Linked DNA regions of Homo sapiens: regions 1, 2 and 3 are each linked to region 4. Evidence: promoter capture Hi-C in 16 types of primary human blood cells and fetal thymus (Javierre and others, 2016). All regions are on one chromosome and are shown on one strand. The core of a region is centred on a gene start or on the middle of the fragment in contact, and the rest is flanking DNA. Distances in the headings are between cores, read along the strand shown.

Evidence for each region. Contacts are between HindIII fragments. The CHiCAGO score rates a contact against its expected background, and 5 or more counts as called.
Region 1: a contact is called between the fragment with the promoter of C14orf119 here and the fragment with the promoter of LINC02332 in region 4, in 1 of 17 cell types (neutrophils). The highest score is 5.1, in neutrophils.
Region 2: a fragment that was not itself captured here is called in contact with the fragment with the promoter of LINC02332 in region 4 in 4 of 17 cell types (naive CD4 T cells, total CD4 T cells, activated CD4 T cells and 1 more); the score reaches 10.6 in naive CD4 T cells.
Region 3: a fragment that was not itself captured here is called in contact with the fragment with the promoter of LINC02332 in region 4 in 1 of 17 cell types (total B cells); the score reaches 5.4 in total B cells.

What each region holds. Positions count from the first base shown.
Region 1 is chr14:23,094,178-23,096,949 of GRCh38, forward strand. C14orf119 (chromosome 14 open reading frame 119) reads left to right here and starts at 1,328. Exons shown (of 2, transcript NM_017924.4): 1 at 1,328-1,442. It overlaps ACIN1 (apoptotic chromatin condensation inducer 1), which reads right to left and starts at 959. Exons shown (of 19, transcript NM_001386863.1): 1 at 798-959. The coding sequence starts at 935. RefSeq lists enhancers at 700-1,009, 715-1,238, 1,050-1,129, 1,150-1,359, 1,239-1,762. The HindIII fragment of the contact is 5,470 bases long and covers 1,194-2,772 here.
Region 2 is chr14:21,957,551-21,960,469 of GRCh38, forward strand. It overlaps TRA. Among named protein-coding and RNA genes, the nearest start is that of OR4E1, 290 kb to the left of the region's middle. The HindIII fragment of the contact is 2,966 bases long and covers 119-2,919 here.
Region 3 is chr14:23,075,767-23,078,466 of GRCh38, forward strand. ACIN1 (apoptotic chromatin condensation inducer 1) reads right to left here. Exons shown (of 19, transcript NM_001386863.1): 8 at 2,385-2,500. It overlaps LOC124903288 (a long non-coding RNA gene), which reads left to right and starts at 2,500. Exons shown (of 2, transcript XR_007064077.1): 1 at 2,500-2,700. RefSeq lists an enhancer at 2,626-2,700. The HindIII fragment of the contact is 1,376 bases long and covers 738-2,113 here.
Region 4 is chr14:22,555,653-22,558,547 of GRCh38, forward strand. LINC02332 (long intergenic non-protein coding RNA 2332) reads right to left here and starts at 1,410. Exons shown (of 3, transcript NR_146543.1): 1 at 1,299-1,410; 2 at 1,140-1,201; 3 at 659-870. It overlaps LOC105370399 (a long non-coding RNA gene), which reads left to right and starts at 914. Exons shown (of 2, transcript XR_007064066.1): 1 at 914-1,914. RefSeq lists enhancers at 456-555, 606-945, 1,806-2,015 and a silencer at 1,056-1,105. The HindIII fragment of the contact is 9,123 bases long and covers 1-2,895 here.

The sequences.
Region 1 (2,772 bases), core at 78-2,577, 540 kb after region 4:
AACCCTGGAGCCAACCCAGACCTAATCTGCACTACCTGCCACGTATCCTGTTGAACTCTAATTAAAACCAAGACATCCTCATCTTCCCTTCTTTAAACCAAACCTATACACTTGAATCGAGCTACACCTACCTCATGACAATCCCACCTTAATCTACTCAAACCGATTCAAAATCCCCAATATATATCAACCTGCCTCGCCTCTCTCACCAATATTCACCAAACTCTTAACCACCCAAATTGCCACTAGATGCCACTAAATTAGAGACCTCTCTCTCATCAAGTCCCTTCAAATAAAGGTCTCTCTTCATCTCACCTCCTCATCTAATCGAGCAGACATTTTACCCTACCCCAGTCCTATTCGTGCAGATACCGATACCAACCCCATCCACCCCTTCGCGCAACTATACCCCTAACTCCGACCCAGCCCAACTCGCCCCCCTCAGGCCAGCAACGCCGTAGGTTGTAGTGGGATTTAACTCCTTCTGCAGCGCATGCGCCGAAACCACAGATACAAACAAGGAGGGGGTGGGGGAAGGAGGAAGGAGCTTAAGACACTCCTGGAGAGTAGTGCACACCCTCCCATTTGGGCTCGCGCTGCTGCCGTTAAGGCGGGAACCGGCGCGATCTCCATTCCAGCGCGAACCTCATCAACCACCGTGCGCGCGGATCCAGAGGCTCGCGCTGGCGGCCTGAGCGAGCTCGCGCCGAGCCCGGATACTGCGCCTGCGCCGCGGCAGAGGCTCGTCTCTACCGGGTCCGCTCTCCTCCGACACCCCAGCAACGCCGACTCCTCACCCCTTTGAGCCGCTTGACCAGGGCACTCTTCTGCCCGCTCTTGGCTAGGCCTCGCTGCTCCAGTGCGGCCTTCAGGTCGGTCACCCGCAGCGCCTGAAGAGGCTTCCCGTCCAGAGTCACCTCCTCCAGCTCCGCCATCTTGCGTGAGGTACTCGGGTCCGTCCCGACGGCTTCGGGCATCTTCGGTAATTTCCGCCAACGCCCTTCGAACGTACCGAGATGACCCCGCCCACTGCCATACTCTACCCCTCGATTACCACTCAGAACTCCCCGGGTTCCTCCGGATGTCCTCGGATGTTTCCGTCTCCACATCGTTACCAATCAATTCTTTCCATCCGCCCTGCAGCGCCCCTTTTCTCGCCCTGCTTTCAGGCTCGGTTTTCTTCGTCTTGCCGAAGCTTTGAATCGAATATATTCGGAAACCCTCGACCCTGGTATAACCATAATCGGAGATGTTCGTTTATTTCCGGACCTAGAGATGAGGCGCTGGGGCGCTTGGGTGTTTGGGGCGGGTCCGAGGCCGGAAGTGCGTGGGCTGCCGGGCTGGCCCAGCTTAGGGTTTTCAGGAAATTTGGAAGCTGCCGCAGTAGTTGGAGTCTAAGGACTCGTGACAATCTTCGGGTGCCCTTCGAGAGAAAAGGGGAGGTAAGCGGGGTAGAAGTACCTCTATGGGCCGGGTCAGACTCGGTGTTTGCGGATTACCTTAATAGGGCAAGCCCCCCACTCCTTAACGCAAACAGCTTCTGCCCTCTGTCCTCTGAATCATAGCCACTCCCATCTTAGGCTTTTTTTGGGGAGGGGCGGGGGGCTGGTGCGGAATCGGAATAACAAGCTCCGTGGGGGTGCGCAAGAAGCATCGCCGTGTCTTCGGACCCAGACTATGAACTGATCTATGACGCTGAACTTGAGTTTGAGTTTGCCTTGGAAGCCATGTGGCAAGATTCTGGGAAAGTTCTTCCTTGCTCCGCAGAAGAGAGTAAGTTCCCTTGGAGGAACTGCTTCCTGTAGGGCAAGAACTGGAAAATGCAAGCGCCCTGAACTTTTTTGGTACTTGAACTAATATTAATTGTTTAGGGGCTTCTTTCTTTGTCACTACCAATCCTCCAACTTGATGCAGAAGAAACACAAACAGTAAAATAGGTCACAGACAAATAGTTTAGAGATTTAAGAGATACGTTAGAGATTTAAGAGACTGAAAACTATTAAAGTCAAATTGGCTGATCTTTCCGTTGCATTCATGATGCAAAATCAGTGGCAAGGTGCCGGGCGCGGTGGCTTACGCCTATAATCCCAGCACTTTGGGAGGCCGAGGCGGGCGGATCACTTGAGGTCAGGAGTTGGAGACCAGTCTGGCCAATATGGTGAAACCCCGTCTCTACTAAAAATACAAACAAATTAGCCGGGCGTGGTGGCGTACGCCTATAGTCCCAGCTACTCGGGAGGCTGAGGCAGGAGAATCGCTTGAACCCAGGAAGCAGTGGTTGAGATCACGCCATTGCACTACAGCCTGGGTGACAGAGCAAGACTCCGTCTCAAAAAAAAAAAAAAAAAAAAAAAAAATTGCAAGGCACCAATAGATACCATACTAAAAAAAAAAAAAAATTTTTTTTTTGTCACTCCACTCTGGGTCCCTCCACTCTGACGCAGGCTGGAGTGCAGTGGCGCGATCAGGGCTCACTGCAGCCTCAACCTCCCGGGCTCAGGTGATGCTCCTACCTCAGTCTCCTACGTAGCTAGGACTACAGGTAGGCACCTCTACGCTCAACTAATTTTTTTATTTTTTGTAGGGATGAGGTTTTGCCATGTTGCCCAGGCTGGTCTCGAACACCTGGGCTCAAGCGATCCTCTTGCCTCGGCCTCTCAAAGTGCTGAGATTACTTTGGAAGTGCAAGAACCACCGCGTCTGGCCCATACTAAATATTAAGGACAATTGTTTAAAGACATGGATTGTCATAAAATAGTATAACACTTGTTA
Region 2 (2,919 bases), core at 352-2,851, 600 kb before region 4:
CTTTTTTCCCCATGTTTAAGCATTCCTTTAGGGACCTCTTATAAGGCAGGCCTGGAGGTTACAAATTTATTTAGCATTTGCTTGTCTGAAAAGAATTTTGTATTTCCTTTGCTGATAAAGCTTAGTGTGGTTGGCTATGAAATTCTTGTTTGGAATTTATTTTCTTTAAGGATGCTGAATATAAGCCCTTAATCTCCTCTGGTTTATGAGGTTTCTACTGAAAAGTTCACTGTTATCTTGATGGGGTTTCCTTAGTAGATGACCAGCCCCTTCCCTCTAGTGGCCTTTAATATTTTTTCTTTCCCGTTAACCTTGGAGAATCTAATGACGATGTGTCTTGGAGATGGTTGTCTTGTACAATGTCTTGCTGGGGCTCCCTGAGTATCCTGAATTTGAATGTTGACCTTCCTAGTGAGGTTGGGAAAATTTTTATGGGCAATATTCTCAAATATGTTTCCCAAGTTCCTTTCTCTTTCTCTCTCTCTTTCAGGGATGCCAGTGAATTATAAATTTGGTGTCTTTACATAATCCCATATTTTTCAGAAATTTTTGTTCATTATTTTTTATTCTTTTTTCTTTATTTTTGTCTGACTGAGTTGATTCCAAGAACTATTCTTTGACCTCTGAGATTCTTTCCTCAGCTTGTTGTATTCTCCTGTTAATACTTAACAATTGTATTATAAAGTTCTTGTAATGAGTTTTTCAGCTCTATCAGAACAGTTTGGTTCTTTCTTAAAATGGCTATTTTGTCTTTCAGATCTCATATTATTTTATTTCTTTACATTGTTTAGATTCCTTGGATTGGGTTTCAATTTTCTTATGAATCTCAATGTTCTTACATCCAAATTGTGACTGCTCTGTGTGTCATTTCAGCCATTTCAGCCTGGTTAACAACCATTGCCTGGGAGCTAGTGTGGTTGTTTGGAAGTAAGAAGACACTCTAGCTTCTTGAGGTGCCAAAGTTGTCGTGTTGGTTATTTATCATCTGTGTAGGCTGATGATCCTTTAATATTTGAAGTTCTTGTCCTTTGAATTTTTTTTTTACTTTTATATTATTTTATGCCCTTGAGGGATTTGACTGTGGAATAAGTTGCGTTCAGTCAACTGGCTTCATTTCTGGATGATTTCAGGGGTCCCGGGTTCAGATGAGCATTCCTGCACTGCATGCTCTAACCCTATGGGGTTGGGACCAGGCCCACTTCTTTGTTCTCTGGCCCCTTTAGGTTAAGTACCGACTGAACTGGAGGGGCTGAGGTGTTACTGGTTTGCTGACATCAACACTCCACTTGGGGGTGCTGGCAAAAGCACTTCATTGAACTTGTGGCAGCAGGATCAGGGCTCATGTACACCTGTGCCAGGGGCAATGGCGGGAGGGTGTGGATATGTGTCAGCAGTGGCCTGTCTGCAGAAGCTCTCTGATGGTTAGGCAGAGTTTGCTGGTGAAGTAGCTATGACACCAGTCACCAGGAAGTGCCCTGGTTGGACACCTAACGCAGAGTTGCAAGTAGGCATGGTCAGGTAGGGACCCTGGGAGAGGTCGGCAGACAAGGGGGTGCTCAGATCAGACTAGTCCTGACCCATGGGCAAGACACCTCTACTCTGTCCAGGTCTGACAGTCAACAAAGGCTAGAGCCACGTAGAGGAGCATGGTGCACCTTGGGGAATAGGCATCCCTACTGGGCTCACTGCCTCTATTCCCATGCTAAACACTCTGGGCTTCACACAGGCTAGAGTCCTGTCACTGCCAGCACTCCAAGTAGCTCTCCCTGCCAGCTCAAATTTCTATGGGCATCATGGGGTCTCCTGCAGTTAGGATTCGAGAGGTCCATGGGAGGAGTTAGCAAATGCTCACCTATCTAATTCAGCCTTTCCTCTGGAGACATTGAGCGTCATGAATGAGTCCCAGTGCTTGGCAGCCCTGTGCAGGGTTCCCGGGTTCCTCTCACTTTGGTCCAGGGTCTGAGTCTTGTCTCCATCCATTCTCAATGCATTCTTTCTGACGATACCCTCAGAGAATGCAAGTCTTCCTGATGGTCTGATCTCTTGGTAGGAGAAGCTCTTTCTAGCTGTGTCTAATTGACGATCTTGGAGCTCCTCTTCCTGGCTTTATTCTTAGTGTCTAGAATAATGACTAGCCCATAGTAATCGGTCAAAAATTCTACTGAGTGAATGAAGAATGAAATTTGTTTGGCCCTCCCCTCTTTCTCCCTTTTCCCTTCCTCTCATTCCCACTCTAGCAACTTTGACCTTTGTGTATGTTGTCTCTACTTCACTATGTGGGGCAGCTCAATTTTCTCTGGCCCTCACCCCCAGACTCAGAACCCAGTCTTTTTGTACTTAGTGGCTTCTGTCAAATAGATTCACTCAGGGCCTCAACCTTTCCTCACTTAATTGACCTCACCTTATCAGATGTGATGTGAAGGACTGAGTCAACTCTTAAGGCTAGTAACCCATAGCGAAATATCTAAAAGAAAAACGACATACTTAAAAGATGTTTGGAAAGTATAAAAGTAACTTCTCAAGCCTAATAATTATGAGCACATATCAAAGTTTTATTTCAAATTACTGCAAGAGAAAAAGCTCCTCAAGAAACAAATTCAAATAATTAGCCTTGGTATATTGTTACAGGAATCCAGATTTTTAAAAATCTGGTTAAAGATCATTATTGCATTCAAATGACGGTTGCATAATTACCCTGCTTTTGACTGCCTGTGTAGTGACTATTAGGCTTCTCACAAGATTAATGGTCATTTGAGTTTGTAACACTAATTTCCCAGAAGGAATCTTTATTTCATTAAAGGATATTAGAAAATTGCTCAAGCGTTTTATTAGAAGTGATGGTTAATTACCACATGGGGCTATGTATATTATATCCTCCGAAAAATGCCTGCTTCATACCAGTTTGGAGAAACTTACCTT
Region 3 (2,700 bases), core at 176-2,675, 520 kb after region 4:
TGATCTCAGCTCACCGCACCTTCCGCCTCCCGGGTTCAGGCGATTCTCCTGTCTCAGCCTCCTGAGTAACTGGGATTACAGGTGCACACCATGCCCGGCTAATTTTGTATTTTTAGTAGAGACGGGGTTTCACCATGTTGGTCAGGCTGGTCTCGAATTCCTGACCTCAGGTGATCCACCTGCCTTGGCCTCCCAAAGTGCTGCAATTACAGGCATGAGTCACCACGCCTGGCCATGCCATAAATGGTCTTTTCCATTTAGCATTGTTGATTACGCTTTCAAAATTGGCCAGAGCTCTAGAGGGCTGCCAGACTGCACACTTAACACTCTGGAGGGGTGAGAGACCAGGAAGGGTGTTGTTAATCAGTTGTGGTAGGGCCTCCAGAAATGTATGCAACCTTCTCAAAGATTTATTTACCAGATCCAATGCCTATGGGTTTAGGCTTCTGGGCATGCTGTTTTGTTAGAATGTTGAACAACCCATGTGATAGGCAGGTAGAAGGAAAGCAGGTACGAGTGATGTGTGTGAACTGCTCCTCAGTGAAGACTGCATTTCCCTTCTATACACTACTCCACTGAAGCGGGCCTAGGCAACAATGGACAATCTAAGTATTTGCCCAAGATGCCACTTGCCTATCATCTTATTAGAATCAATGTGACTAAATTATCTCAGTCATAAAATGAAGATCAAAACCACCTTTACCTGGAGTGGGGGGACAGGAAACTCTATGACTCCAAGCTTCATGTGCCCTGGACTTGCATGGGAATGTCCAGAAAAAAAGCTGCTTCAAAACAAAATAAAATGCCTTTCTGTTGCTAGGATCTCATAAACCCACAGAATTTTAAGGCTAGCAAAGAGCTTTTCAGAAAATCACTTTCTTCCCAAGGTGCATCGGAAGCAGTTCCTCAGGCCCAATTAGTAGCAGGCTGTCAATACCCACTTCAAAACTGCCATTTCACAAAGGACATGCTTTTGTAAAATGGAATGTAAAATGTACCTCCATGGAATTGGGAGGAGGGGGGCAGGTATTATGTCTGGTTGAGGGATATGGAAGAGAAAATGTCACCCCATTTCCTCATCGATGATGTAGCTGGGGAATCCTGAATACCTTCCAGAATCCGCTGAGTTTTCACTTTATGGTCCCAGAAGAAAAACCCTTTTCCAAAGGATAGCGTACCCATTCCAGAAGGGAAAAACCAAAAAATTTCAAAGGAAGTAGAGTGAACTTTTGGCTGCCAAACAAAAAATGTTAACAGCCACAAGATGGCAGCAGAGGTAAGACTGTCAGAATCGACAAGGATTATACCCCTCAGCAAGGGTATACCCCCAGGTAAAAGCTATATAGTAAGGTCTATAAAACTATCATTAAAGTCACAGGCAAATGAGATAAATCATGTCACCTGCCCACTACCCTCCAAAAGTCAGAGTTAAAGTACAGTTTGAAGCTCTCAGAAGAGTATAAATTATTAGACAATTACATATAGGGGAAATCATACTGGTAGCATTAGTGTTAATATGGCATAAAAACAAGTATAGAATAACTTTAGGCTAACAGTCTACACAGGACATTCTACAAAGCAGTTCAGGGTTCCTGATGTCTAAAAGCTACGCAATCTTATTCCCATAAGGCTTCATTTTTTCATTTCCCAGGAGACTTTGAAGCCAGGAATTCTGGCTCATTGGCTTCTTAATTTATAATACCTATCTCAGAAGAATGAATGACATACCTATTTAATTCTAATTTAACCTGATATGAGTATTTCTCTAGGACTTAATATAAAGATTTTAAAAACTCACATTAATTGTATAAATTTTAAGTTCAATCAAATGGTCTTAAGGGCCCAGGAACAAACTTCTGACTTGAAAGGAACTTCATAATTTGCTGTACTGTATGCTGTAAGAACTAGGATATCCTAGCAGAACTAGGATAGCTTAATGACAGGTAGTAACTAGGGAACTAGGGAAAATGCACAAACTAAAAAATAGCACCCAGCTGTGCCTTTATTAAGACCCTCAATATCCTTTATTAAACTGGGTTCCTAGGTAAACATGAGTTAAAGATTAAGATGCCCGGAGTCAATTCCCTTACATGGTTTTGAGTGTGGAAGCAGAAGCTTCTATTGCCTAAATCTTAAAGGAGTTGACTATTTTGGCTGGATGATCCCAGGTGAGTTTTCCTTGTGCCCTGACGACCACTTTTCAGGTTACCTTAAAGGTGGCAGCTCCCAACATAGTAACTGAAGTCTAGCCTTTGTCCAGATAAAGCTCTGCCTTTATGTTTTAAAAGGAAACTAGGACTGCTTAGTCAAAGAACCCTAGGGAGCGAAGAACTATCGCACACTCATAGTTCCCTGTTATACCCCGGTCGAGATATATCACTTACACAGTGTGATGAATTCTTTCTGATTCTGGCAGATGAGAGGTCTGAGTCTCTGAGGTTTGGGGCTGTGTGGCAGCTGGTGGCTCTGCCTCTTCAGCTTCACACTTCTTTGGGCTCCCCTGTCAGGAGATAGCAAAAACGAACAGAGCAAAACATTTAGATCTGCTTGGTTCCTTTTCTTCTACCTGGAGCCTGAAAAAGGCAGGGCAGGACATACACAGTACCAGCTCCACACACGGCCCTCTGTATCTGTTATTTCATTTTAGAATAAGGAAAGGAACATGGCTTAAAAATAGGTACTTCAAGAATATTTATGCCA
Region 4 (2,895 bases), core at 160-2,659:
CCTTGTCATCAATGTGTCCCCAGGAACTAGAACAGTGCCTGGCACACAACAGATGCCGTTAAATGAATAAGTGAATGACTCCTGCAGTTAGGCTCTGGGTGGGGGGAGCTGAGTGTGAGGAGTGGGGAGTACAGGAGAAAGGAAAGTGGGGATTAGTAGAGGAAGTGGTCAGGTGAGTCAATGCTTCACAGTTTTGCCAAGAGCTAAAGTAACTTGTCAAGAACTTCAGAACAAGGAAAGCCTGAGTGGTGGCCCCTTGCTCAGGGCAGCCCCCAGGCAGGCACACATCTATCCAACAAAGCCTGGAGGACAGGGACTGTGGTAAATCACGCAGGGTACCTGGGAGTCTGACCTCACTGTGTGACCACACTGAGGTCCAGAGCCAACAGTCACTTTATGTGGGTTCGCCTCAGTTTCTCCATGAGTCCTACTCTAAAACCCATCTACCTCCGTGAGCCATGTGTGGGAAGACGAGCTTCTGACTGGGATGAGTCTGGGGGAGCAAGCACATGGAGACCCAGTGCTGTCATTCTGGCTGCCGGAAGGCTGCAGGACCACCAGCGCCCTGCGTCTGTGTCAAGGCCACCTGGGCAACGCGGCGAGGGGTGGGGAGTGCAGGCCTCCTTTCACACAGAGACACACAGGCCTGAGGCCTCTCTGGGTAGCACACATAGAGCTATATTTTGCAATTAATAAACAGGTCAGACATTGAGTCAGTAGCCACAAGTAGAACAGGAAGTGGAAAAAGTCTCCCACTTCCCTCCAGGTGTTTGGGGGCTGGGGCGGTCCCCTCCCATTTCCATGACGTCATGGTTACCAAGAGGGGCAAGTAGGGCACCCTTTGAAGCTCTCCCGCAGAAGCCACATCCTCTGGAAAGAAGAGTTTAAAATACTGAGTTAGAGATAGCATCGCCCCAGGCCACGTGCCGAGGGGAGCAGGCTGGGCCGTTACACCACCCCCCAACCGCAGGTGCAGCAAGGCCAACATGCCAGGCTGGGAGGGGCTGCCGGCCCCTCGGTGACTTGCACCGGGCCCGCAAGCAGGCTGGGGAGGTGCTGCTGGCCCCACCGCTGAGCCGCCTCCCTCACCGCACCTCTGCTGCCCCTCCAAACCAGCCAAGATCAGACCTTGATCTCACCTGATTAAGCGCTTGCTTAGTACAGGGCAGACCCTCGAGACTTATGCTCAGGCCAGTGTCTCCTGGGAGGGAAGGAGGTGGGGAGGCCGTATTTGCCCCCACACAGAGCTAGGGCTGATTCTCTGAGGGACCCCCCCCCAATAGCACCTCCCCCCTTACCCTGATGCTTGTCCATTAGGTGATGGCCCTAATGGACGCCTTGATGGACACGTCCGGGACCCAGGGACCCGGAGACCAGGAATCTGCTGGTCTCAGGGAGCCGCAGAACCTGAAACCCAAAAATACCAGGCTTGATCGCCTGCTCTTCGGTAGTGTCGCCATCCACCCGCATGGGGGCAGCAGCGCTCCACCAAAAAGACCTCTTCTCCCTTTGTCTGTTAATTCTGGAGATAGAAAGCCCCCAAAGTTTAGGAAAAGCTCTTTTCCGAGGAAAATAAAAGGGCAGGTGACTTTTATCCCACAAGTCCCTGCCCTGTGCCCGTCACTGCGCTGGGCGCAAGGCCTGTGTCATCCTGTCACATCCCCCCCCAAAGGAGAGGAGGGCCTGGGGCCTGGGCCGGCAGCAGGGGGCGCTGTTCGTCCGGGATCGTCAGACCCGCTCCACCCGGAGCCCTGGAGGAAGTGCCCAGGGAGGGCTGGGGGCCCGGAGGAGGCCTTGGGTTCGGAATTAGGCTGGCTGGAGTCCGGGATCCACCACATCATACACTCGTGCCTTTGGCAGGTCACTAACCGCCCACCGCCTCAGTTTCCCGGTGGGACGAACTCTCTCTCACAGGTAGTTTAAGAACCAGGCTTTCTTTGGCATTGTATACCTGCCATGTGCCAGGCTGTGTCGTGCTCTGGGGATTCAGTCTCTGTGCAAACTATGACTCCATACAGATGAAGTCCAAGAACAGGCAAAACGCATCACAGGTGATAGAAATTAGGGCACTGTTTGCCTCTGGGGTAGAAGGATGGATTGAAAAGGGGCACGAGGAAACCTTCAGGGGTGGTGGAAATGTTCCATATCTTTATCTTGGGTGATGGCTATATATATATCAAATGCATCATTAGTGTATTTTCATGTAATTATGCCTCAAGAAAGTACTGCTCCCATTAAATACACACACACACACACACACACACACACACAGAGTTTCTGTCTTCAAGGAGTTAACAGTCCAGTGAGTAGTGGGTATGAAAGAGATGTGTTAATGGCTGCAATTGCAAGACAGAGGCTTTTGTTACTATATTCTCCTCAGGCAGGAGTCCTCAGGCAGGAGGCAGGAGAACCAGTTGTTTGTCCCTAAGCGTCACTGCCCCTCACTAGCCTTCTCTCCTGGGGCCTTTAATTTTTCTGAGTCCCCATGTGTTATTATTCACATAGAGATAAAAATACCTGCCCACCTATTCTCAGTGTTGTTGAAGGGATTGAAAGCAGTAATGGGTGTGGAATGCTTAGTAAACTGAAATCCCAGTGCAAATATGAAGTGGGAATGCATCAGAATGCCCAGGAAGACGAACCATGACCCGAACAAGATGGGCTGGGCCAGGTCAGATGGCACTGCCATACTGAGAAAAAAGTGGGCTGGCTGCGGCTTCACACAGCCCGGGAGAGCTCAGAACTCCCCAGGCCCTGCCGGTGCGCTGGTGTTTCTCATAGTATGTGGCCACCTCTCCAGTCACTTCGGCCCTAGGAGCTTCTTGTTACACCATGATTTTGTCACTACCTCCGCAGCTTCCCACCTCCTGCTTCCGGCTTCCAGAAGGAAGCGCG